7 separate regions of the Homo sapiens genome follow, and regions 1, 2, 3, 4, 5 and 6 are each linked to region 7. The links are contacts of gene promoters, found by promoter capture Hi-C in blood cells and fetal thymus (Javierre and others, 2016). All regions are on one chromosome and are shown on one strand. The core of a region is centred on a gene start or on the middle of the fragment in contact, and the rest is flanking DNA. Distances in the headings are between cores, read along the strand shown. Region 1 overlaps TMEM127 (transmembrane protein 127). Region 2 overlaps STARD7-AS1 (STARD7 antisense RNA 1). Region 3 overlaps STARD7 (StAR related lipid transfer domain containing 7). Region 4 overlaps ADRA2B (adrenoceptor alpha 2B). Region 5 overlaps ASTL (astacin like metalloendopeptidase). Region 6 has its middle 20 kb from the start of DUSP2. Region 7 holds the start of CNNM3 (cyclin and CBS domain divalent metal cation transport mediator 3).

Evidence for each region. Contacts are between HindIII fragments. The CHiCAGO score rates a contact against its expected background, and 5 or more counts as called.
Region 1: a contact is called between a fragment that was not itself captured here and the fragment with the promoter of CNNM3 in region 7, in 1 of 17 cell types (total CD8 T cells). The highest score is 6.0, in total CD8 T cells.
Region 2: a contact is called between a fragment that was not itself captured here and the fragment with the promoter of CNNM3 in region 7, in 3 of 17 cell types (activated CD4 T cells, naive CD4 T cells and neutrophils). The highest score is 7.5, in activated CD4 T cells.
Region 3: a contact is called between a fragment that was not itself captured here and the fragment with the promoter of CNNM3 in region 7, in 1 of 17 cell types (total CD8 T cells). The highest score is 5.8, in total CD8 T cells.
Region 4: a contact is called between a fragment that was not itself captured here and the fragment with the promoter of CNNM3 in region 7, in 1 of 17 cell types (total CD8 T cells). The highest score is 5.0, in total CD8 T cells.
Region 5: a contact is called between a fragment that was not itself captured here and the fragment with the promoter of CNNM3 in region 7, in 1 of 17 cell types (fetal thymus). The highest score is 5.5, in fetal thymus.
Region 6: a contact is called between a fragment that was not itself captured here and the fragment with the promoter of CNNM3 in region 7, in 2 of 17 cell types (non-activated CD4 T cells and total CD8 T cells). The highest score is 6.0, in non-activated CD4 T cells.

What each region holds. Positions count from the first base shown.
Region 1 is chr2:96,258,839-96,261,652 of GRCh38, reverse strand. All of the region lies in intron 2 of TMEM127 (transmembrane protein 127), which reads left to right. Among named protein-coding and RNA genes, the nearest start is that of TMEM127, 5.8 kb to the left of the region's middle. RefSeq lists enhancers at 464-713, 187-1,118, 1,119-2,052, 301-2,814. The HindIII fragment of the contact is 2,395 bases long and covers 159-2,553 here.
Region 2 is chr2:96,231,998-96,234,886 of GRCh38, reverse strand. All of the region lies in intron 1 of STARD7-AS1 (STARD7 antisense RNA 1), which reads right to left. Among named protein-coding and RNA genes, the nearest start is that of SNORA112, 19 kb to the right of the region's middle. RefSeq lists enhancers at 636-785, 796-865. The HindIII fragment of the contact is 9,545 bases long and covers 1-2,889 here.
Region 3 is chr2:96,184,817-96,187,554 of GRCh38, reverse strand. STARD7 (StAR related lipid transfer domain containing 7) reads left to right here. Exons shown (of 8, transcript NM_020151.4): 7 at 254-338; 8 at 641-2,696. The coding sequence ends at 825. Among named protein-coding and RNA genes, the nearest start is that of STARD7-AS1, 22 kb to the left of the region's middle. The HindIII fragment of the contact is 6,166 bases long and covers 1-2,738 here.
Region 4 is chr2:96,112,875-96,115,574 of GRCh38, reverse strand. ADRA2B (adrenoceptor alpha 2B) reads left to right here. Exons shown (of 1, transcript NM_000682.7): 1 at 1-2,699. The coding sequence ends at 778. Among named protein-coding and RNA genes, the nearest start is that of ADRA2B, 2.3 kb to the left of the region's middle. The HindIII fragment of the contact is 642 bases long and covers 963-1,604 here.
Region 5 is chr2:96,131,477-96,134,213 of GRCh38, reverse strand. ASTL (astacin like metalloendopeptidase) reads left to right here. Exons shown (of 9, transcript NM_001002036.4): 4 at 156-249; 5 at 672-789; 6 at 1,493-1,674. Among named protein-coding and RNA genes, the nearest start is that of ASTL, 5.7 kb to the left of the region's middle. RefSeq lists enhancers at 1,152-1,652, 2,655-2,737. The HindIII fragment of the contact is 2,736 bases long and covers 110-2,737 here.
Region 6 is chr2:96,163,792-96,166,744 of GRCh38, reverse strand. No RefSeq gene overlaps it. Among named protein-coding and RNA genes, the nearest start is that of DUSP2, 20 kb to the right of the region's middle. RefSeq lists enhancers at 1,598-1,677, 1,938-1,987, 2,868-2,953. The HindIII fragment of the contact is 5,740 bases long and covers 1-2,953 here.
Region 7 is chr2:96,814,843-96,817,542 of GRCh38, reverse strand. CNNM3 (cyclin and CBS domain divalent metal cation transport mediator 3) reads right to left here and starts at 1,275. Exons shown (of 8, transcript NM_017623.5): 1 at 41-1,275. The coding sequence starts at 1,265. RefSeq lists silencers at 419-528, 539-678, 689-1,668 and an enhancer at 2,009-2,128. The HindIII fragment of the contact is 9,370 bases long and covers 1-2,700 here.

The DNA of each region.
Region 1 (2,814 bases), core at 107-2,606, 560 kb after region 7:
CAAAGCTGCCTGAGGCTTATCACTTTCCTATTCTAGTTGAGTTTTATCATAAGCCCAGCCAAAGCTGTGCTTTTTGTCATAACTTCATCGCCTCAGTGTTGAGGCTTTAGTTGGTGATCCCAGGGCAAAGCCACTCTCCCATTGTCATTCACAAAGCTTCAGAGGCTTTAGCCAATGAAAGCTGGCTCCAAAGAACCCATCCTGGGCTGGGTGTGGTGGTTCACTCCTGTAATCTCAGCACTTTGGGAGGCTGAAGCAGGAGGCCAGCAGGATCACTTGAGTCCAGGAGTTCAAGGCTGCAGTGAACTATCGTCGTGCCTCTGCACTCCAGCCTGGGTGACAGAGTGAGACCCTTCCTTTAAAAAAAAAAAAAAAAGACCTCATCCTGGGTTTTCTCCACTGCCCCTGCAAGCGGTGCCTGCTTCTCACACAGCTCTCAACCTGGCCCTGGGTGGAGATAGACTCACACCTCTAGACCCCAGAAAGAGGGGCCGCAGATAGTCATTTCTTCTGAGCCTTTCTGCCTCTCAAGTGTGGCCACCAAAGGGCACTGGCAACAGCCCCAGGAAGCATCTTTGGAGAATGAGGAAGTTGGGGAGTAGAAGTCAGGTGAATCACAATTGACAGCAGCCACTGGAAGATCAAGGGCCTTCCAGGGAGAGCCTGTGTGCCTGATAGGTGGTGACTGGGGCAGCTGACACTGCCAGGCCCTGCGGGGCCTGTTGGTGTCTGTGGGATAACCTGGCTGGGCACTAGAGGGCTCTGTTAAGAGGCCTGTGTCGCAGGCCTGTCTGGAAGCTAAAAAGGTCACAGTGAGGAGACGCTGAGCAGGTTGCACAGATGCATAAAGAGGGATTGGGGCATTGGGGAAGTGTCTCTAATTCAGAGGGACTCCAGCAAGAAGGGAGGCGGGGTGGGACAGAAGTCCTTTTAAGCCTTTCTGCCTGCAGACTGTTTGGGTCAGGAGTGGTTAGAGCAATGGGCAGATAGACAGGAAGAGGCAGGACCTTCAAAACAAATCTAGCCTGGTGACTCACCAGTGACCTTGAGCAAAGTCAGTTCCATGGGATCCTATTACAGCTGCCTACTTCCCTGATGACTAGAGGGCACCGCCAAGCAGTGTTTACCAAAATCAACAGGCCAGAGCACAGCTGGAAGGTAGGAGGTGTTCTGTGTCTAGCCAGGGCATCGTGGACTGCACCACTGGCTTGAATTTCAAGTTAGGGTCCTGCGTTGCATGCCATTTCTCTCTCGAATAAAATCCTACATACATAACCTTCAGGGGTTTTCTTTAGCAATCCCCTCATGGGAGCAGGTGCTTGTTGCCTTCCCTGCTGTACCGACGTCTAGGAAGGGAGGAGAGAAAGACATTGAGATACTGACTCCAGAAGAGTCTCTGAGCTGGGCTCCAAGCCTGTCTAGGATAACTGCCTGTTCTTCCGGTGTGCTCTGAGACCCTCTGAGGAAAACCCACCTGTTACATGGGGCAGGCCCCTGGGGTATCTGTTAACGTTACCCAAAGGGAATTTCATATTTGGTTTTCTCACTAACCCTGAGGGTTTACTCACAGCTTTGGAGTGGGGAAAGGCAGTTATATTGAAACAAAACCTATTGGAGTTTTAGGTCAAAAGTCTCTTCTCTCTATCATATTGTCATACTTGTAGGGTAGGCCCTTAGTCTGGCTTTAGTAGGCCTTGGTCCACACGGGCTGACGTGTGGTCAAGGAAGTCTTGGTAGAAGAAGGAAAGGCATGCTGAGGTGACACACTGGCCCAGCTGAAACAGCCTCTGGTTAATAACAGCACAGGTGGCTGCTCTTTCATGGGCACGGTGTCAGCTGACCCAGCATGCCCTGGTGGTGGGTGGGGCAGATGTTATTGTTTTCATTTGATAGATGAGAGAACAGAGGTCCAGCGCACTCAAGGGACTTGCTCAAAGTAACACAGTCTCTGCTAGAGCTAGGATTCGGCGCCAGGTCCCAAGCCTTTCCGGTGTCCTGACCACTTCCTAGAGCAGGCTCTGATGGTTGCAATGCTGCAGGAGCTTAGACACCATGCCTGGCAGGTTTTGCCCAATAATTCCCCATGTGAGGACTTAATGACCCAAACCTTTTTTGCTTCTTAGAGAGATTTCATTGCTTCAAGCTGTTCCTCTAGTGAGCTTAGCAGCTGGCTCTGAGGATGGCTCCAACAGTATTCCTGTTAGCTTCTGACCCCTCATTCACGCACAACTCTTTAGGAATTGATTGATTATCTCCAGGGAAAAATACAGTGGCCGAGTCTGGTACTTAGTGATTCCGAGCAGCACAGTGTAGGGGAGCCTGATCATGGTTTGGAATCTAGCTCTGCAGCGTGTGGCCTGGAGGAAGCCACTTCACCTTCTGGAGCCCCCGACTCCTCATCTGAGCTGTGTGGTAAATCCCCCAGGGGGGCACTTCACCCATCTGTGTGCACAGGCTGTTCCAGGAGGGGTATACAAGGCCCCTCCAACAATATTTGCCTTTGGAGAGGAGCAGGTGGACATCCGCAAGGGGAGGGATGTCCTCTTGGAAGCTTTTTATCATGTGCATGTCTCCTTACTAGTAAAATTCATGTATAATGAAACATAAGACAATAGGAGTATATGTCATGGATGTACATTTTTAAGGATAATCAAATGAACATCCTTGTGCTCACCATCCAGCCAAAGAAACAATACAGGCTCCTTGAAGCCTGCACATATTACTTTTCTTACTCCAACTGCCTGGCCTCATCAGTAATGTGAGTGGAATCTGACACGGCCTACTGCAGAGCGGCATGTGACCTCTGGTAGGTTA
Region 2 (2,889 bases), core at 141-2,640, 580 kb after region 7:
GAGACCTGTCTCCTTGGCCATAATTACCACAACCGGACCGGGGATGAGCTCCTAATCCAAGTGAAGGCACTTGATTCTTTCTTTTGGGAGCTTGAAGTGAGGATTCAAAGACATCAGTGTCAATTAGTGCTCAAACTGGAAGGATTTGTAAATTTAGAAACTGGGTCAGACATTTTTCTTTATATAAATGGAAAAGCTGAGAAGATTAGGTAGGGGTTGGGTGAAAGAGTAAAGCAGAAAGGAAGTAGAAAAGTAGAAAGAAAATAAGAGTCCACATAGACTTGGAGTTGCAAAAGAGGAATTACTTAGGTTCCTGTCCTAAGGTTTGAGTCCTCTGAGAAGATGCCCAGATAGGACTAAATGTGCAAGAGATGTGCTGGGAAAACACTTGTGAAGCGAATAGCAGGAAGCCGGAAGAGCCTGGGAGAGCTGCAATGCAGGTGTAGCCCCTGCCAGGAGACAGGAATGGAGGAGGGCTGGGTTGAGGAGGTGTTAGAACGCAGTGTAGTTCTTTCTTTTTCAGAGACAGTCTCCCTTTGTTGTCCAGGCTGGCCTCAAACTCCTGAGCTCAAGCAATTCTCCTCCCTCAGCCTCTTGAGTAGCTGGGACTACACATGCCTAACCATGCCCAGCTTAGAACGTAGTGTAGTTCTAAGAAAGCTCTGCAAGAGCTGATGAGGTGTGCTTGTGCCAAAGCCACCTGTCAGAGGAGTCCCCATATCCCAGAAATGGGCCTGCCTTAGTATGGCAGGCCTGCACTCAGTCACCGGGTGGGAGCAGCTCACAAGAAGGGTGGTCTCAGTGCAAATGCAGTGGCAGAATTTCATAGCCCAGCAGCAGGGGGCCATGTTACGCTCCCCTGCATTCAGAGATGTGAGCAGTGCACTCTCATGGCCACAGCTCCCAATGCCTTTTCAGTTCCTTTTTCTACCACCTTATGATGCGCAAGTGCCTTTCCTGCCTGTGAATTCTGAGCTTCTTGAGACACTCCTGGATCTTTCAAATTCGATTCCATATTTATGCTTAAACTACTTTGAGTGGATTCCAAGTACTTGCAACAAAAACAACAACAAAAAACATAGATTGAAATAGTAACAAGGGGACTATAATCTAAATTTTCTATATAAGAGGGGATGGAAGGAGGTAATAATAATTCTAGCGCTTATTCCTTATACCCTGTAGAGGGTTCTACAGTTTGTAATGTATTTTAGCTTACACAATCTTATTTGAGTCTTACAACAACCTCTGAACACAAGTAAGGCTGGCATCATTATCTGTATTTCACAGATGAGGAAGCTGAGTTTCAGAGACAATACAAATTATGCTGAATTGAAAAAAAATGGAGGCCGGGCGAGGTGGCTCACGCCTGTAATCCCAGCACTTTGGAAGGCTGAGGCAGGTGGATCACCTGAGGTCGGAGTTCGAGACCAGCCTGACCAACATGGAGAAACCCCATCTCTACTAAAAATACAAAATTAGCTGGGCATGGTGGTACATGCCTGAAATCCTAGCTACTTGGGAGGCTGAGGCAGGAGAATTGCTTGAACCCGGGAGGCAGAGGTTGCAGTGAGCTGAGATAGTGCCATTGCACTCTAGCCTGGGCAAAAAGAGCGAAACTCTATTCAAAAAAAAAAAAAAAAAGACAAACCATATAAATGTTAGCCTCTACCTATAAAAGCAGTGAGCCAAAAGCAGCACTGCATTCCTGGAGAGATTGCAGAAATTAGTTCCACCACTAATCAATGATCTGAAAGACACAGAGCTGATGATTTCCATTCAGCTTAGCTCTCTAGCCTGTGCAGATCCAAGATGGATCCAAGAGAATGGCGTGGATTATTATAAACTCAATTAGGTTGTGACTCCAATTGCAGCTGCTATTCTAGGTGTGCCTTCATTCATGAAGCAAATCAATGCATCCCTTGGAGCAAAGTATGCAGCTATTGATCTGATGAATGCTTTTTTCCTCAGCAATTTTTAGTAAAGACCATCAAAAGCAGTTTGCTTTGAGCTGACAGGGCTAGCAATACCTATTCGTTATCCAAACTCAGGACTGTATCAATTCGCAGTCATCTGTCATCATCTAGTTTGTGGAGACCTTGTCCTCTTCTCTACTCCACAGGACATCACATTCATCTAATGTGTTGATAATATGCTGATTAGAAGTAGTAACTATTCTAGCCACCTTGACGAGATATATGTATGCCAGAGGGTGGGAAATAAATCCCACAAACATTCAGTGAACCTTCTGGGGGGCCTAACGGTCTGGGGCATGTTAAGCTGGGCCCTACTACCACTAAGAGGCACAATGCCCAGTGGTTTTGGATTTTGAAGGCAATGTATACCTCATTTCAATGTTCTTCTCTGACCCATTTTCTGAATAACTTAAAAGGCTATCAGTTTTGAGTGGGGCCCAGAAGAAAAGATGACATTGTCATGACAGTTCCTGACTTATGAAGGTTCAACTTAATTTTTTTTACTTCAGCAATGATGCGAAAGCGATGTGCATTCAGTAGAAGCTGTATTTCGAATGCTGGATTTTGATCTTTCCCTAGGTGAGTGATATGTGGTGCGATGCTCTCTCGTGATGCTGGGCAGCAGCAGTGAGTGCAGCTCTGCCAGCCACAGGATCACTAGGCTGGATGACCAATATTCTACAGTGGGCTGTATGGACGGATCACTTTGCCCAACTGTAGGCCAATGTAAGTGTTCTGGGCATGTTTGAGGTAGGCTAGGCTAAGCTATGATGTCCTGTAGGTTAGGTGTATTCAGGGCATTTGCAACTCAGGATATTTTCTTTTCTTTTTCTGAGATAGGGTCTCACTTTGTCTCACCAGGCTGGACTGCAGTGGTGCAAGCATGGCTCTCTGCACCCTCGATCTCCTGGGCTCA
Region 3 (2,738 bases), core at 63-2,562, 630 kb after region 7:
TATGCACAGGGAGCCACCCATATCAGCTAACTGTTGACTGGGAGCGAAGTTGGCCAAGGGTCAACATTGCAAGGAGACCTTTCTATAGATAGTAGTCTCTCAGGCCTTCAGTGTTAACTCTTTTCTGCACAGGGTGAAAAAAGAAATGACACTCCCTGCTCCAGAATCAGATCATAGTTATTCTATGGTACTGGATATGGAGGTTGTGGTTGGTGATTCAGGGATCTTCATTTTTGCTGTTTTTCTTTTCCAGAATGGCTTTGACTACTTACTAACATACAGTGACAATCCCCAAACGGTGTTTCCTCGCTACTGTGTTAGTTGGATGGTTTCCAGTGGTAAGTAAGGGCAAGTATACAGGGCCTGGAACCTGGGTTGAGCATTTTGTTTTTCTCTATTTCCTAATGGGGAAATAAAACGTCTCTTCTGGTTCTTCTTTTTTTTTTTTTTCTGAGACAGAGTTTTCACAACCCATGCTTTGGGAACACATTCCGGGAGGCAGCTCTTATTCACAGGCTAGTCAGGTTGTGATCTTTATAAGGAAGAACTAGTTCCCTACCATCAAAGAAATAGGGTCTTCTCATTTTGAGCCTACTGTTGGTTTGTATGTCAGCTTAACCTGATTCTCGTCTCCTGACAGGCATGCCAGATTTCCTGGAGAAGCTGCACATGGCCACTCTGAAAGCCAAGAATATGGAGATTAAAGTAAAGGACTACATCTCAGCTAAGCCTCTGGAAATGAGTAGTGAAGCCAAGGCCACCAGCCAGTCCTCTGAGCGAAAGAACGAGGGCAGCTGTGGCCCTGCTCGGATTGAGTATGCTTGACAGGCTTTGGGATAAGAAGGGACAAGGTGCTTCTAGCCCTGTCTCAGTCCGTTATCACTCTGCTGTAGAAGGGGGACATGCCACATGTATTAGAAGGCATCTGCTGTAACTTCCAGTGCAAGATAATTCAATAACTGATGTCCCATTTCATTCAGAGCCCTTATTGCTCTTATCAAAACAGAAGAAGGCTACATTTGTGGGAGTGTTGTCATATTCTCAGGCCAACTGTTTTGAAATTCGGTATCTCACTGAGCTAATCTGGAACAAACCTCTCACCTCAGGCCAGAAGGGGATGACCTCCATTTGCTTCTCTGAGTAGTTTCCTCTGCTGACATTCCAAATCCCACCATCGATTGTGCAGCGCTTTGGATTTCCTTCAGTTCTCCAGGTCCACCTGGAAAGTATAGTTGGCCAGTTGAGTCTCTCAAATGAGGGGCTACTGGGAGTGCTCTTGGTAACAATCATGATGTGAATGGGTGTGAACGATACTTGGCTATGTTAAGTGCCTTGTCCGCACCTTGCTTTTATCTCTAGAGACATGAAGTTATTATTAATTTTTTTTTTTTTTAAGTAGAGATGGAGTTTCACTCTGTTTCCCAGGCTGGTCTTGAACTCCTGGGCCATGCCTGGCCAGGGACATGAATTTGTACAAAGAAATTTCCCTCCCTGCCTGCACAATATCACCCATTGACTCACCTTATCCAAAGCAAGTTTCCTGTGAATCGGCCAGTTCTTCTATATTCATTGGATCATTGCCTCCTTCCTAACCTTCCCCATTTACCAAGAACACTGGGAGACTAATCCTTTTAGATAGTAGCTTTTTGATGCTCAAAACATCACATTTAAATTTAGTTTAAAAATTTTTTAACTTTTGTGTCAAATAGGAGTTGAGGAATTGAGCAGGATTCTACCCTAGTCCGATTGTATAGAAAACACCATTTTGATTCAGGTATTATTTTTCATATTTCAGGTTTGACTTGTTCTTTTCAGAAGGCTAAAGTCAGAGGAATGGGGGCTGGGCCACTCCCTTGGAGCTCTCAGATCTACAGACAAGCTGTGTGAATGCATAGATGTAATCTTGTCTCAAATACTAATACAGTGGAGATTTGGTTTATGTTACCATTAAGTTCCTCTAAAAAGTTTTTCTTCCTCTCTTCAGAGCCAAAATAAAAGTGAACTACACTGTTCAGATAAGGTCACAATCTGATGCTGTCAGTTTGACCGAGCTGGTTTTGCTTATGGTCATGCTGCAATTTGTTAGAATAATAGGGATCAAGTTTTAAATCCTCCTCCTTCCCTTTTTTCTGGAGTCTTGAGGGCCAGAGTTTTTGTTTTTGTTTTTGTTTTTGTTTTCCTGCTTGCTACTGTTTTGTGGTGTTGAAAAGTGGTTTAAACCTGAGACTAACTTAAACACTTCCTTGACCTTCTTGTTGCCTGTTCATTTTTGTGCCAAGGAAGTAGCTGCCCCAGTGTATGTCTTGCCTTCTCCGCGTCATTGTTGGAAGAGGAGAGATGCATCGAGCAGTCCCAGCTGCTTTTCATTTATTACTTCTTCTTTCCAGGACCTGACAGAAGTCAGGGAAGAGTCCCTGGGTTATGTCCAAACTTAGCACCTGCAATTGTTGGGATGTGGATGGATGTGTGCATAAGAGAGAGAGAGAATATGTGTGTGTGTGTGTGCGTCTGCGAGCGCACACACATGCACAAGTGCGAAGGAGTTGCGGTTGCTCCATGTTCTGACTTAGGGCAATTTGATTCTGCACTTGGGGTCTGTCTGTACAGTTACTCATGTCATTGTAATGATTTCACTCCTAACTGTGACATTTTTATCAAATGTGTGAATAAATACATAAAGATTGGTACAAAAAAAAGTGTTTGTCTTTGGACAAATGGTGGTGGAAAAATCTTGCATA
Region 4 (2,700 bases), core at 34-2,533, 700 kb after region 7:
CCTGCGCATCTACCTGATCGCCAAACGCAGCAACCGCAGAGGTCCCAGGGCCAAGGGGGGGCCTGGGCAGGGTGAGTCCAAGCAGCCCCGACCCGACCATGGTGGGGCTTTGGCCTCAGCCAAACTGCCAGCCCTGGCCTCTGTGGCTTCTGCCAGAGAGGTCAACGGACACTCGAAGTCCACTGGGGAGAAGGAGGAGGGGGAGACCCCTGAAGATACTGGGACCCGGGCCTTGCCACCCAGTTGGGCTGCCCTTCCCAACTCAGGCCAGGGCCAGAAGGAGGGTGTTTGTGGGGCATCTCCAGAGGATGAAGCTGAAGAGGAGGAAGAGGAGGAGGAGGAGGAGGAAGAGTGTGAACCCCAGGCAGTGCCAGTGTCTCCGGCCTCAGCTTGCAGCCCCCCGCTGCAGCAGCCACAGGGCTCCCGGGTGCTGGCCACCCTACGTGGCCAGGTGCTCCTGGGCAGGGGCGTGGGTGCTATAGGTGGGCAGTGGTGGCGTCGACGGGCGCAGCTGACCCGGGAGAAGCGCTTCACCTTCGTGCTGGCTGTGGTCATTGGCGTTTTTGTGCTCTGCTGGTTCCCCTTCTTCTTCAGCTACAGCCTGGGAGCCATCTGCCCGAAGCACTGCAAGGTGCCCCATGGCCTCTTCCAGTTCTTCTTCTGGATCGGCTACTGCAACAGCTCACTGAACCCTGTTATCTACACCATCTTCAACCAGGACTTCCGCCGTGCCTTCCGGAGGATCCTGTGCCGCCCGTGGACCCAGACGGCCTGGTGAGCCCGCCTGCGCTGCCCCTGTGGGGTTGGTGCGGTGGCGCCGGGGTCACCCTGCTTCTTGCCCTGCTGTGTGTGGCTGCCTCCCCTGGGCTTTCTGCTCCCTGCCCAGATCCTGTAGGCCTCATCTTAGGAACCCCTTGGGAGGGGTGGGCAGGGGGGCTGCTAGCAAGGGTCCCAGTGAAGCTTCCCCTTGCCGGCTTAGCTGTGGGGGACCCCTTCTCCACCCTCTCCCTGAGCACAGGCCGATGGAGGTGGTTCAAATCCTCTGGAACATAGCCAAGACCAGGAGAAGAGAGAGCACTTTCTTCCCAGAGCCCCATGCTCTCCAGACCAATGTCTGGGCTTCCCTTTCTTGAGGACCTTGTGTTCCTGGCAGGTCACTTGCTTGTGGTGTTTTCGTTTCTTTTTCATCTCCCCCCCACCCACAAAGAGCACGGAGCCAGCCTTCCACTTTTCCCAGTGGGGCCTGCTGCTGAGGGGGAGGAAGAAACGAAGACTGATCACCCACGCTAGGCACTCGCGGTCCCTGGCAGGCGCTGGGATGGGGGCTTATGGGGTGGCATCGTCTCTGGGCCCTCCTTTCCCCCTTTGCCTGTTTTCGGATCTGTGGTTCCTTTGAAAGCCAGAACAATGGATCGGCTTCCTTACCCAGCACCCCTCCGGTAGGTGGGTGGCCACGTGGATGCCTCGCTGGGGCGGTCTTGGAGGCCTGGTCTCTGCCTCGACGGGAGATCCCCGATCACTGGCATTCACCCCCTGCAAAAATCGGGGCGACAATAGCTCACTGCCTACTTGCTGCAGGGAGATGAAAGGCTTTGCAGAAAGCTTTGAGCTCTGTGGGGGAACACACTAGAGAACCAAAAATGTGATTATATGGTGATATAAAAATCCCTTTCCTCTGTGTTTACCACCACCTGTCTTCCTGTAGACTTTTGTTCTGTCCCTGGGGTGTGTGAATTCCTACCCCGAACTGGAAGCCGGGAGTGGCAGACAGAATCACTATTTCAAGTTAAAGGATCTCTTTGAGAATGTGTTCTTCTGGCTGCAAAGGTCTGAGTTATTACGCTACATGACAACGTTTCGACATTTCACCGGCAACACCAAGAGGGTTTTTAGTGGCTTGGGTCTCCCCAGTGGGGGATAAGTCTTTTGTCATCAAGGAGGCAAATTGTCTCCCCAAGACAGCTCAAAATATCCACACCTCGGCAACAGTCTAAGATGAGAGCCTGTGACAGGTGGCAGCGCCCCCAGGTGGGGTACTGGCATCAGAGCCTGGTGCGCCCCTAGGGGAGCCTCCCACTGGAGTGCCCGGCCAGGTCTCCAAGCCCCAAATGAGTCCTTGTGAACCACAACTGATCCCCCCAGGTGGGTGCTTGTGGACTGCCTCGGACCCAGCCACGCTGCTCCCCGCAATGCTGATGGGGCTGTGCATTGAGGACCCCTGCTTCCTGGTTCTCAGTCCCACCCCAAAACCTGGCACCCAGAACAGTTGGAAGTGTGGAAAGGAGGTTTATCGGCCTTCCCTTGGAGAGGGCCTGGCTTCAACATTGGGCCAGTAGGCATCTTAGCTTGGCAGGTGTCGGGGGAATGGGCCAGATGGACCTGCTAGATTTGGAAGGGCACCGAGGGAGTTTTCTGGGTGTAGAGAGAATGGAGGGGACCAAAAAGAGTCCTTCCTGGGGTGTGGGAGGCTTCCCAGCTTGGTCCTCAGTGGGTTGTTGAGGCCAGAGTATCGCCCTGGGATGTGGTGGGGAGCTGGGCCAGGAGAGGGACTGACTGTGACCCTCTGCTGGCCGGTCTTGTGTGCGCCCCATGGGACCCCCAGTGTTCTTGCCTGTGACCTCTTATTGCGACATGCAGGTGGTGTTTTTTTTTTTTTTAAACTCTGAGCTATTTTATCAATAAAGGATATTTTGTAATAAG
Region 5 (2,737 bases), core at 228-2,727, 680 kb after region 7:
AGCTCTGTCCCATCTCTAATGGTCCCCCATTCCCATGCACACAGGTCCTGACTCCCACATCTTTGGGGTTCTGGTGCCCTGGGGTGTGGTACCCTTGGGGCACAAAGCTTGGGTGGCCTCTGTCCCCAGGGGTTGAACTGCTGCTCTCTCCTCAGAGTCCCTTCCGACTGCTGTCAGCAACCAGCAACAAATGGCCCATGGGTGGTAGTGGTGTCGTGGAGGTCCCCTTCCTGCTCTCCAGCAAGTACGGTGAGTGAGCATGGCGCGCTCCCTCCCTGCCTCAGCCCCTTCTTCCTAATGCGGCAGGTGTTCCTCTCTTCCCTTTTCCTCTTACACCATCACATCCCTTCCACCTCCCCACCCGAAGAACCTGTCCACAGATGCCCTTCTGTTGCTGAAGGTCTCCTGAGTAGGGAGGGTTAAAATCTGATGGGAAGGTATGTCGAGTGGGGATCTGGTTCCCCTTGAGACCATGCGGTGCAGAGGACAGTGACCTACCCAAGGCCACACAGCCAGGGTCTGTCTGGGGCCCAGCTTCTTCCTGGCACCACTAAGCTGCCCTTTCTTGATGCTATTTTGGGAGAGTGAGTTCAGAGCTCTGCTCCCAGACCCTCAGGTAGAGCTCAAAGACCACCAGGGCTCTGGGGGCTCAGCCAGGTGGTGTCTTCCAGATGAGCCCAGCCGCCAGGTCATCCTGGAGGCTCTTGCGGAGTTTGAACGTTCCACGTGCATCAGGTTTGTCACCTATCAGGACCAGAGAGACTTCATTTCCATCATCCCCATGTATGGGTAAGTGCCGGGGCCAGGATGCGTATCTCAGCTCGCTTCTGCGTTCAGCCCGGAATTAACTTGGCCATTGTCTAAAATGTATTCCTGGGCCCATCCTCCAGGGCTCAGTCTCCCTGCCCACCCTGAGGGGTCTGCCAAGTGTGAGCTGGACCTCCAGGGCGGAATGTGGGAAAGGGATGGGAACGGTGCTAGACCCTCCATTTACAAAGCCCTCCTCTCCCGGGGGACTCCATGAGGTGGTGAGGAGAGGAGGTTTTGCGGGGCAGACAGTGCGTGAGTCACTGAGTCCTGGCAAGTCCCCTAACTTCTGAGCCTCTTCTGTCCCCTCTGGGGTGCGAGTGGTGGCGATACCTGCTTCCTAGCTTGTCAGGGGCCTGAGGCAATTTGTGTGAAAGCCTTGGCTTAGGGCTGACCAGGAGGGTGTGCTCACTTAGTAAGCTGCTTCTGTCCTCTGTGTTCATATATCAGTTTCTGCAGCCTCCCTGCAGCCCAGGCTGGTGATGGGGGTCCGGTATGGCCATTTCACAGAAGTCCAGGCAGTAAAGGGGCCTGGAGAATGGTGAACCTGAGACTAGAGCCCAGAGTGGGGCCTGCCTGTTGGGAGTTTGTCTATCTTGTGTTGTGTGGGGAGGGAGAGCCCAGGTCTGTATGTCCGGAGGGATCTGGGCTGGCACTTACCCCACTTGCTCTCATCACCCTGCAGGTGCTTCTCGAGTGTGGGGCGCAGTGGAGGGATGCAGGTGGTCTCCCTGGCGCCCACGTGTCTCCAGAAGGGCCGGGGCATTGTCCTTCATGAGCTCATGCATGTGCTGGGCTTCTGGCACGAGCACACGCGGGCCGACCGGGACCGCTATATCCGTGTCAACTGGAACGAGATCCTGCCAGGTGAGCCAGGCCACACGCAGGACAGGCTGGTGCCGGGGAGGGGACAGCACGGCTTGGGCCCAAGTCGCCTGGTCCCCATGGGTGAGGCTATCCATCCTCCCCATCACCTGCCTGCTTCCTGTGGGGAAGGTGGGGGTCTCACTTCTGTCTGGTACCTGGTACCTGGAGGTGGTACTCTGGGTGCTGCTCTGGGCCCCAGGCCTTCCTCTACCCACCTGTAGTTGTGCCTTAGCTAGGGCGCCACCACCTGCTTTGTCTCGCTTCTCATCCCTGACACTGTCCTCTCCCTGGCGATGGGGCAGGCAGTGCCCATGATACCTGCTTGTTGAGTACTCTAGCAGCGGTCTCATGTACCAGATACCACCACCATGGACTGGGGCTGTGTGCCAGCTTGGGGAGCTGAGCCAAAGTGGGACCCCAAGGTAGCAGGCTGCACAAGCCAAGTGCTGGGCCACGGGCTGAGGGCAGCACTGTGGGGCTGGGACATGTGCCAGTGGTGCCAGTGAGCAGGCAGAAGGAACACAGACTGTGGCCATGGGAGAGTGGAGGCTGGAGGCAGGTGGGCTGTGGTTCCTGTGCTGGCAGCGGCTGTGTGGCGCCGGGGATCAGATCCTGGTGATGGTGGGGTCTCTCTCATTGTGGGCTTGATGGTCTGGTTCAGGAGGCAGGAAGAGCCCCACGAGGGAGGGGCAGAGGAGGTTTGGGTGGGAGTCTGGCTTAGGGGTTGGAGCAGGAAGGCCTACCGCAGGTGGAGGGCGTCCAGCACGAGACCTTTCAGGGCTGTCATGTTAGCCAGGTGAGGCAGCCAGGGAAGCTGCCTGGGCCCAAGGACCTTCCCAGGCCCCAAACACCGCTTTCTCAGTGGCTCTCAGCAAACATGAGTCACAGAGAAAGGGGTGACGGGGCACGTGGGTAGCACCTCACAAAGGGGGAGGGGATGGATATTGAATCAGACCAGGCTGGGGAGGTTGTGAGGGGGGTGACAAGTGACTCTGTACCCTGAAAACAGACTGATCCTTCCCAATGCTCGTGGAACAGTTGTGAAAGTTTACCCTGATAATTT
Region 6 (2,953 bases), core at 120-2,619, 650 kb after region 7:
TTCACCATGTTGGCCAGGATGGTCTCGATCTCCTGACTTCATGATCTGCCCACCTCGGCCTCCCAAAGTGCTGGGATTACAGGTGTAAGCCACCGTACCCTGCCTGTGCTTTTTTGTGTTCTAAGAAAACTTTGTCCAGTTCAAGATATAAATATTTTCTCCTATGTTTTTCTTCTATACATTGCATAATTTTAGATTTTACATTTAGGTCTTTGATCTGTTCCAGTTAGTTAATTTTTATATGTGGTGTGAGTTAAGGGTCTTAGATGACATTTAGTATGTCTCCAACATTATTTCTTATTTCGTACGAGGCAGAATGGGAGTCTCACTCCCCTATTATTTTCTCCCTCGCCTTATTCCATATACATTATAGGAAATGTGTTTTTGTTTTTTTGTTTTTTAAGAGGAAAGAGACAGAAAGATTTGCTAATATGGGGGTAGCCAGTATACTCCGTTTTTACTCAATAGTGTCATGTTGCTTTCCCTACATTATTTTTTTTTTATTTTTTATTTTTTAGATAGAGTCTTGTTCCATCACCCAGGCTGGAGTTCAGTGGCACAATCTCGTCTCACTGCAACCTCCACCTCCCAGGCTCAAACAATTCTCCTGCCTCAGCCTCCTAAATAATGGGATTAAAGGCATGTGCCACCACTCTCAGCTAATTTTTGTATTCTTAGTAGAGACAGGGTTTCACCATGTTGGCCAGGCTAGTCTCAAACTCCTGGCCTCAAGTGATCCACCTGCCTTGGCCTCCCAAAGTGCTAGGAATACAGGAGTGAGCCACCATGCCTGGTCAATATTATCTGCCTTTTATTTTTTATTTTTATTTAGTTTTTCCAATCTGGATGGTATAAAAGGGATATCTCAGTTATAATTTTGATTTCTCTAGTTACTATGGAGTTAAATATTTCTTGTCATACTTGTTAACCATTGGGATTTCCCTTGCATGAATTGCCTATTATAACTATAATCCTTTTTTATTTTTTTTTCTTAGAGACTGAATCTCACTCTGTCACCCAGGCTGGAGTGCAGTGGCCCCATCTTGGCTCACTGCAACCTCTGCCTTCCGGGTTCAAGCAGTTCTCCTGACTCAGCCTCCCGAGTAGCTGGGAGGGACTACAGGCACCTGCCACCATGCCTGGTTAATTTTTTATTTTTATTTTTTGTATTTTTGGTAGAGACGGGGTTTCACCATGTTGGCCAGGCTGGTCTCGAACTCCTGACCTCAGGTGTTCTACCCACCCTGGCCTCCCAAAGTGCTGGGATTACAAGCATAAGCCACTACGTCCGGTCGACTATATCCATTTTTATGTTGATATTTTTCCTGTAGTTCCCCTGGTTTTCTTCTTGATTTGTAAAAATTCCTTGTATATGCCAAAATATAATTTCATAATAGTTTATTTTATTTATGAAATTATAAATAGGGTCCATGGGAGTGGAGTGAACAGCGTACATGTCACTAACTGTCTGAAGGTTGAGGAGAAACTCAGGACCTAGGTGGTGGTGGGGTGGCCACCACCATTTAATAGACTGGAAAATAGGATGGAAGTTGGGGGTGTGGTGGAACAGGGCCACAGGGAGTGGGTTTTCACCAGTCGAAAAGTGGGCAGAGCCCTTCGGATGCGGCCGACTGGCTGTCATGCAGCTGCGGTGCCTGGAGAACTCAAGATCTCCTCCATCGACATGGCAGAGGATGAGCAAGTGGGAAAATCGCACAGGGCTTTTTATTGCCTGAGTCTGGAGGTGGTGTTTCATTGGCTGGAGTAAGTCACATGGCTCTGCCAAGTGTGAGAGGTCTGTGTAGGGTAAGCCTCTGCGTCTGGTAGGGAGGAGGTTGGGACCAGCGACTACCAGTCATATTCACTGCAGGATGTGTGCTGCGGTCTCCGGTCTCCTGGGGGCAGGCCCGGCCTTACAGCCCATCCCTGGACCCACCTCGGGAGGGGAAAAACTGCAGGGCTCTGGGAGCGCCGCCACCAGGGAAGGGCTGCTGGGATCAGCCGGGAAGGAGGAAGGGAAGGGGGAGAGGGGCTTGGGTCCCTTGATGCTGCCTGAGGAGGGCTGGTGGACACTGCCTGGGGCTCCCTGCCAGGCCCTATTGGGCTAACAGTAGGCTTTTGTTTTCAGTAAGGGACCTCCCCTCCTGCCTTTCGTTCTGAGGGCATTGCAAAGGGCTCAGAGAGGGGCAGCTCCACATAGGAACTGTGATGGGTTATGAGCAACGCATTTCTGTCTTCTGCCATCTTTTCTGTGTGTTCCAAATTTCCTAGTGTTGGGGGATTTCTGGGATAATTAGGGAAAATAACAAATGTGTGATAGACTTGTGCAGGGTGGTGTGGTAGGTGAGGCTCCGGCCCAGAGTGAGGGCTCCTTCCCCTGACATGGGCATCTCCAGGGCCTCCCTGCCCATCCCATGGGCATCCTTATTCCTGGCTCACAGCAGTGGGGTCACCTCCCCAGGGTTCCCACTTAGTAGCTGAGGAAAGTGGGGCTCAGCTGGCTTGCGGGCCCTGCCTGAGGCCACATGGTGTGCCTCCGGATGCTGGGCTGGCCGTCTCACTCCTTCCCCTCTGCCTTAGTGCTGGCCTAGGCTGAGGCTGCCCGGGAGACCACATTAGACACATTTGAAACCGTCTGTCTCTTCAGGAGAGCAGACTCAGATGTAAATTCCTTCAGCCCCCAAGGAGCTAAAAATAAGAGGCCTGTGCCCCTACAGCAACCCAGGAAAGGCCACGTGAAAACCCAGCAGCTGGGGGCGGAGGCTGGGGGCGCGGGGCCCAGCAGTGTTGGAGGGGTGGAAACAGGATGTGAGCAGAGAGGGGGCTGTGAGAAGCAAGGTGACACCCAGCAGAGGCGGCCACCTGGTACAGCATGTTCTGAGCCACGGAAAAAGACCCTGGGCTGCGTGGGAGCCCTTACATCCTGCTTGGAGACAGGCCTCCCCCATTTGGC
Region 7 (2,700 bases), core at 26-2,525:
ACTCGCACGGGCGTCCCCTGCACCATGCCCGGGCCGTTACCTCGCTTGAATTCCTCCAGGACAGCGTCCAGCTTGGTGTCGTTGAAGACGAAGTGGAGCGGATGGTTGTAGAAACGAGTGATGGTGCTGAGCGGCGTGCAGTCTTCGGGATCCACGAAGGCCAAGTCCTTGAGGTAGAGCATGTCCACGATGTTGGAGCGCTCCTCCTCGTACACCGGGATGCGCGTGTGGCCGCTCTGCATGATGCTGGCCAGGACGCCGAAGTCCAGCACGGTGCTGGCGTCCAGCATGAAGCAGTCTTCGAGGGGCGTGAGCACGTCCTCCACGGTCCGGCAGCGCAGCACGCCCTTGCTGAGATCGCTGTAGGGGTCGCCGCCGCCGCGCGCCAGCTCCAGCACCCGCTCCCGCAGCCGCCCGGGCCGCGCCGCCAGCTCCAGCAGCTGCCCCACGGGCAGCGCGACGGGCAGAGTGAGCAGGACGGCCAGGCGGCTGAGGCCGAGCGCTCGCGGCGCCAGCGCCAGCGTCCAGCGCCCGCTCACGGCGGCCGGCACCACCTCTCCCACCAGGAACACGAGCCCCGCGCTGCCCAACACGGCGGGCACCGCACGCTGGCCGGCCGCGCGGTACAGCAGCACCGCCAGCGCCGCCTGCGCCAGGCTGGCCAGCAGCAGCAGCGCGCCCAAGGCGCAGCCGGCCCAGCGCCGCGCGGGCTCCAAACGCCGCGCCGCCGCACGCTCCGCCTCCGAGCCGCTCTCGCGCAGCACCTGCACCTCGGCAGGCGCCAGCGCCAGCGCGCTCAGCTGCAGGCCTCGCGCCAGCGCTGCCAGCGCCAGCAGCCCGGCCGCCCCCAGGCCCAGAGCCCAGGGCGGCGCCGCCTCCTCAGCCGCCCCGCCACCCGGCTCCACGCGCACCGCCAGCAGCGCCGAGTGCGGGCGCACGGCCTCGGCCCGCAGGCGCAAGCGCAGCAGCGCGCGCCACTCGCCCGCGGGGGAGGCCGCCTCCTCCCGGCAGCCCGCCCCCTCCGGGGCCACCCAGGACCAAGAGCTGTTGGCGAAGCCCGGGCCGAAGAGGCGCAGGAGGAAGGTGGCGTCCGGCGTGTCCCGCGCCGCCCCTCCGCGTACCCAACCCGCGCCCGCCGCTCCATCCTCCTCCAGGCAGAAGCCCAGCACTCGCGGGCCCGGCGCGGCCTCCCCCGCGGCGTTGCCCAGGCAGAGCGCGGCGAACAACCAGCCTAACCGACCCGCCGCAGCTACCGCCGCCGCCATCGCCTGCTGCCCCCTCTCGGCCTCTCGCGCAGCCTACCCCGCTCGCCCCGCGCCTCCCCGGGCCAATCGTTACGGCTCTTCGCGCCTCCTCGGCCAATAGGCGGTGGGCGGGGGCGGGCCCCAGGGTCGGACTAGGCTGCGCCGGGGAGTAAACAAGTGGCGGCCAGGGGCGGGCCGGGGGCGTGGGGCTCCGGGCCCCGCCGAGTCTGCTGCGGCTCCGGATGCGCGGGGTGGCAGTGGCCGGGAGGACGCGGGGCGGCGGGCAGGGCCTCCCAAGCCCGGCTGTCCTCGGCCCGTGCGCGGCGCCCGGAGTCCCACTCCTCCCGATGCTGTCCCCCGCGCCCGGAGGCCGAGCCAATTCTCTGGGAAGTTCCCGGCTTGGGAGCGGAGCGGCCGGTCGGAAGAACCTCGGGTGCTGGCGCGCCTGAAGTTGCAGACCAGACTGAAATGTGCGAGACATGTGCCTTTTTCTTAGGAAAGGCCCCAGGTACCAGAAAGGTTTTCAGCGCGCCGACCTACGGGGCTAAGAGGGCTGAAATAAGAACCAGTGACTGAGCGCCGGGAGGTTTAAGGTTTATGGAAGATGTTCATCGCGCCGTACCCTACTAGAGGTTTGGGGACGTGGGACACAGCCCCTGCGTTCCCGCCGCGGACCCCGTGATAAATACACAGACACACAAAATCACTACCGCCTTGAATCTGGACAGCTACCTCAGGTGGTTAATATCTAACAGGAGCAGAGTGGAGCTCAGAAAGACTCAGCGTGGGTGCTGGGTTCCGGCGCGACCAGCCTGATACCTAGGTCAGCATCTCAGCCACACAAGCAGGCGGCAGTTCTGTCAGGAATTACTACATCTGGTGATTCCACTTCTCATAGCTCACCGCTGGGAGAATAATTCCTCAGGATTAACAAGATCTATTCCAGAGGATCCTCACTGCTGAAGCGATTTTAGAAGACAGTGTGGTCTGTTGACAGTATGGAATATTCTTTACCCATCAGATATGATCTGTATGTGATTGGAAGGAAATAAACCAACTGCTAACAACACTTCTCTATAGATGTTCAGATTCAGTAATTTTTGTATTTTTCTCTACACTTTTGTTTTTTCAAATTTCCTAGCACAAGAAGACTTTGACTTACTGCACATGTCATTTTAAATGACCTTTATAAAGACTCTATAGAAACAATTTGCTATGTCATGAAAGTAACAATCAAAAAAAGTATGCACATTGTGGCCACAAAGTAAAACTTGTGTGGAAGGTAATGTGCAAAAAAAAAAAAAAATGAGTAAGCTGGTGGTGAGTGACCAAAGGAAAAGGCTTTGTAAAAAACTTTTTTTTTTTTTTTTGAGACGGAGTCTCGCTCTGTCACCCAGGCTGGAGTGCAGTGACGCAGTCTCGGCTCACTGCAAGCTCCGCCTCCCGGGTTCACGCC